2 separate regions of the Homo sapiens genome follow, and region 1 is linked to region 2. Evidence: promoter capture Hi-C in human tissues and cell types (Jung and others, 2019). All regions are on one chromosome and are shown on one strand. The core of a region is centred on a gene start or on the middle of the fragment in contact, and the rest is flanking DNA. Distances in the headings are between cores, read along the strand shown. Region 1 overlaps LOC100507513 (a long non-coding RNA gene). Region 2 holds the start of RNASE8 (ribonuclease A family member 8).

The links. Contacts are between HindIII fragments. The study calls those that stand out against the background at their distance.
Region 1: a contact is called between a fragment that was not itself captured here and the fragment with the promoter of RNASE8 in region 2, in 1 of the 25 tissues and cell types used here (spleen).

The regions. Positions count from the first base shown.
Region 1 is chr14:20,877,238-20,879,937 of GRCh38, reverse strand. The region is part of intron 1 of LOC100507513 (a long non-coding RNA gene); the gene reads left to right. Among named protein-coding and RNA genes, the nearest start is that of RNASE3, 13 kb to the left of the region's middle. The HindIII fragment of the contact is 3,417 bases long and covers 1-2,700 here.
Region 2 is chr14:21,056,525-21,059,224 of GRCh38, reverse strand. It overlaps RNASE8 (ribonuclease A family member 8), which reads right to left and starts at 1,403. Exons shown (of 1, transcript NM_138331.2): 1 at 770-1,403. The coding sequence starts at 1,332. The coding sequence ends at 868. It also overlaps a transcript of NDRG2 not described here. The HindIII fragment of the contact is 9,179 bases long and covers 1-2,700 here.

The DNA of each region.
Region 1 (2,700 bases), core at 109-2,608, 180 kb after region 2:
AAATATGATATTGCAGTGTAGTATTATTAATGTTGCCATTGTTTTCTAATAAGGAGATAAAGTGTTTTTGGTCCAGTTTTGGGATTGACCTTTCTTTCTCCTTGCAAGTTTGTTGACATGGTGTCGATCACTGATGAGAGTTTGCACAAGTTCCTGGGTCTTATCTAACTCATTTTTGGGAAACTCTGTGTTAGATTTCTCTCTACTTTCATATTTAACTGTATTGCATCTATTCTTGTCCTATCTGTGACAAAGAGGAAACTGGCAACACCATTTACATTGCTGTGGCTGTAGTAACTAGCTGCCCTCAGGCTTATGCTCACTCTTGCATGGTGTAGGGTTGATGCTGAGAAGCGACAGCTCAGGTAGGAACTATAGTTCCCACTTGAAGGCCATGCCAGTGAAAAATGGCCAACGCAGTTGAGAAAGTGTGCTTCTCCACCTTCTATTCTGTTTGCCAGCTACATTAAATGGATGAGGAAATGACAGAACCACAAGATGGAAGTAATCTGTGTCTCTGAATGATACATGGAACAAGGCTACCTGTCAATGAGCAATACTAGGCTTTTATGTAACAAGATATTGTTTTCTATTTTATATGTACTCTGGTAGAACAAACTCTCTCACCTTGTTTTTTAGTTTGTTTTTTTTGAAGGTGTCTTTGCTATTCTTATACATCTATATATCCTCTAGAATCAGTAAGTTCCCAAACTAAACAAACAAAAACTGGGTTGAGAATTTGATTGGAATTGTACTGAATCTGAAACTGCCTTTGCAAAGATTTTGACAGTAAGAGAAATCTGACATAGTTGACTTTATCTTGCTTCTAACCTCCAAGCTGTCCATGGTCATTCCTGGGCATAGGCCAACCTACATCAGGTGGAATTTAGTTTATAGTTCAACTGTAAAGTGAGGATGATAGTAGCCTTTCCCAAAACTCTGTAAAACTAGTGAAAGGCTGCAAGGTTAGGATTATGAGAGGCTCCTGAATTCTGATGAAATGTATTTTCTATAATCCCTTACTGCTCAAGGGTCACGTGACCAGAGGTCACAAGATTTGTCACTTCTCCAATTGCTCCTATAGGTAACATCACTACTGTGGAACCTGAGTTTTGTCTTTTGAGATGTTTTTTCAGATTTTTGCATTCTGGCAACCTATGGAACCAGGGCTCATAACTCAACCAGTCATGTGGTTCCACCCAGATGCAGACTCAGCCCACGAGGCAGCCCACGAGGATTGTTTTTCACACCTATATGATTTCATTCCCAGCCAATCAGCAGCACCCATTCTCTAGCCACCTGCCCACCAAACTATCCTCGCAAACCCCTAACCTCCAAGCCTGCAGGAAGACTGATTTGAGTAATAACTCTGTCTCCCTCGTTGCCAGTCTTGTGTCAATGAAACCCTTTCTTTACTGCAATGCCATGGTCTCAGTGAACTGATTTTGTCTGTGCAGCAGGCAGGAAGAACCCATCAGGCAATTACAAATCTATAGGTCAATTTGCAGAAAAATTGATGTATCTAAATTAGTGAGTCTTGCAATCTATAAACATGCTCTAACTCTCTGGTTACCTTAATGTCTCACAATAAAGTTTTGTACTTTTGTCCATAAAGTTCTTGTTTATCTTTTCCTAGTTTTTCTCCTTATGAACTTAATATTTTTAATAGTATTGCAAATTGAATCATTTTAACATTTCAGTTTCTGCCTGTTGCTGGGGTTAGGGCTCAGAACACATCACTCCAAAATATTCCTCTCTAGCATATTGATTATTAACTATTTATTTAGAGAAACTGCCCGCACAGGAGTTAGCTCTGAAAAGCTGCCCTTTTGTAAAAGAAATTTAGATCTATAAAAGAAATTTTCACTGGTAAAGGTGTTTTTGATCAGGAAGAGAGCTGCTCCAAGGCAATTTTTATCCCCTGAGAGACTCTTATCTGCATAACAAGGCAACCTTTATTTACCATGTATTTACTATATGTTTCCTCCTCTCACGCTCCGGTAACTTGCACCACCACTCTCCAGAAGCCCCAAGCCTCTGTTTCTTTCTGTAGCTTAAGATGCTATATAAGCTTTATTCATCTGGCCTTTCTTTGAGTCTTATATTTTTGTGGGACTCCTATGTATACACACATAATTTAATACAGTTTTTCTTGTGTTAATCCGTCTTATGTAATTTAACTTGTAGCCCAGCCACAAAAAACCTAAGAGGGTGGAAGGAAGTCATTTTTCCCTCCCCTGTGCTGAAATATAAAAATAAATAAACCATATGCCAATTTTATATCTAGCAATTATTAATCTAAATAATTAATTTGCATATGTAGGGGTAAAGGGGAATTTCCCTTTCCCTTTAAGGTTTGAGTTTGCCGAAATTAACCGATGGAAGATTAGCTGCAGAAAAAGGCAAGTTTATTGTATTCATGGGGGAATGATGAGAGAGTGACTTCCCAGTAACCCAGTGAGGTTCAGAATCTATATGCCCTTCTTCACAGGAGAGAGAGAGATGGCGGAATGTAGGCAATTTTGAGGAATAGGAAATTATTTTTAGGAGAGTTGAATGGGCCCAAAGAACCTACCATAGTTTGTAAATTATACTCTTTGGAAACTCTTTGGAGTATGACAAAGAATAGACAACAGCTTCTGACAAAGTCTGCCTAGGTGTGGTGACATCCCTCAGTCTCACTTTCTGCTGTGAGTTTAA
Region 2 (2,700 bases), core at 154-2,653:
GGAGGGAAGTTCACTCCAGAACGCTGAGGGTCCTGCTCTGGGTCACGTCGATGAAACATGAACTCTGGTCTTGCGCACACACAAGGGGGTCAGGCCTCAGACCTGACTGGCATCCCAGGGCTCAGCCTGTCCTTCCTGTCACTCTACCCCTTCACATGAGAGGGGGCCACCAGAGAGCCCTCAAGGGGCTGGAGGACAGAATCAAGCCAGCTTCCCAGACTGTGCCTGCTCAGGGTGCTGCTCTCCCTCCGGCCTGCAAGGCAGGTGGAGCTGATGCCTCACAGAAGTAAGTGTTTCAGGGCCTTTTCAGGGCCTTGGAATTGGAGCTCCAAACCTCTCCACTTACCCCAAGACAGTAACACACACTCCATCAGCAACAGCAGAGTCTTTATTACAGCAAGATCAGATGCATTTCTTTGCCCAACACAGGGAACACAGCAGAGATTCCCCTTCCTTCCTTCCTTAGATAATTACCCCTGTCTGGGATCTCCCTGGACTGTCCAGCCACAGCCCTTCCAAGGATCTGACTTATTTACGTTTGTAATTTTATATTCTTTTTCTTTAAGAGGGTCTTTGGTGAGCCACAGGCCTCACCAAACCCAGATCCATCCTTGTGGGGATCCTGAGTGCTTGACTCTGGAAGGGCTGCAAAGTAAGCTACAATGAAAGGCTGAAGAGAATCTGCCCTCTTCTTTCATCGTTTGGAGCGTCTGTAAAACTCCCTAAGAAACCAAGAGTATGTGAGGTTGAGTGTGTGGGAGGGAAATGGCATTTGCAGTGGGGAGCAAGGATTAATAACGAACTGGAGGGAGGAAAAGCAGCAGCATACAGTCTGCAGAGTGTGAGGTGGAACGTGGGCACCAGGGCTTAGACAACTTTATCCAAGTGCACAGGAACAAGTGGGTACCCTGGGTCACCCTGTTGTGGAGGGTCACAGGCCACTATGTAAGGTGTGTTCAGGTGCTTCTCTTTGTACCTGCAGTTTGGGTACTTCCCTGAGGTGAGCTCACCCATGGTCAGGGACATGGGCCCGTGGCTCTGGTGGCAGTTTTTACAGCTATTCTTGCAGGCTATGTTGGGGGTCTGGCAGGTGATGGCCACACTGGAGAAGGGCTCGTGCAGGAAGGTGTTGAGGTCTTTGCACCGTTCTGTGTACTTATTGATGATGCTCATGGCTGAGTTGCATGCTTGAGGGCTGGGCTGCACATGCTGAGTTTTAAACCACTGAGATGATGTCATGTCCTTGGGCTTGGCTCTGACTAGGACCTCTGCCACCCACAGCCCCAGAAGCAGCAGCAGCAGGGGGCAGCATCCTGCTCTGGCCGGTGCCATCTCTCTTAAGGGAGACAGTGGAACAGAGTGAGGAGGTAGGTGGATGAATAGGTCATCATGGGGGAGTCTTGTTAGTCCTTCTAAGAATTTCATACCCTAAGCCAGTTATTGCAGGGCAATGTGCAGCCTAAGATATTGAACACCCCTGGCATTCTATTGTTTAGTACCAGCAGATAATGTGCCTTTTTGTGCCTCTAATAAACACTTACCTTCTTTACCTCTCACAATAGTTTTATGGGTATGATTACCTTCTCACATATATATATATATATATGAATAAAATGAGGCTCAGGAAAGTTAAGAAAATTCCTATTATCCCACAGCTAGAGCGTGTCAAATACAAGATTTTAACCAGGACCTCTCAAGTTCCCTAACTCCTATTCTTCCCACACTCCCAGGTATCTTTTCTGAGACTGTGAGAAATCACAAAGAGAAACTAAATCTTTTTTTTTTTTTGAGATGGAGTTTCGCTCTTGTCGCCCATGCTGGAGTGCAATGGCGCGATCTTGGCTCACTGCAACCTCTGCCTCCCAGGTTCAAGCAATTCTCCTGCCTCAGCCTCCCAAGTAGCTGGGATTACAGGCATGCACCACCACGCCTAGCTAATTTTTTCTATTTTTAGTAGAGACTGGGTTTCTCCATGTTGGTCAGGCTGGTCTTGAACTCCTGACCTCAGGTGATCCACCCACCTCAGCCTCCCAAAGTGCTGGGATTACAGGCGTGAGCCACCGCGCCCGGTTAAGAGAAACTAAATCTTGAAGAAAAACATGTGAAAGGTCAATACCCCACTCTGCTGGACTAGCTTAGGTGTCCCTGAAAGAGTTGTTATTAAGGTCGTGGAGTCAAATGCATTCCTCCCCATTCTGTGGCCCAGTTTCTCACTGAAGTTAGAAAAAATGATCACTCCTAGTGAAGGGATCGCAGCTCCAGCTGTCAAAGCAGCATGGCGAGTTGGGTTCTTTCCATGCCTGACATTTTGCCCTGCTGGAGAATGTCTTGGAAGGATAGAGGGTCAGGGCTGGAAGGGACCTTAGAGTTCATCTCAGTTGACTCCCTCATTTTAAAGATGAGGGAGCTTGAGTTCCTGCAAGGGCAAGTACTCTTTCCAAGGCCGCCGAGTGAGTGGCAGAGCTGGGGCTAAGAGCTTCCTGATGTTCAACCCATCCCTTTGGGCTGGCGCCAAGCTAAAAAGGAAAGAGGAAAGAGTTTCCCATAGGAGCAGAGCAGAGTGAGTGTGTCTCTGTTTGTGGTTTTAGGTGGTGTGTGCTCATTGCCTTAATTTCTTCAGACCCTTCTAAAAACATTTAAGAGAAAGTCTCCTCTTAGAGCAAGAAGGTGAATTCTTTTACACTTTCCCGTGTTTGTTTC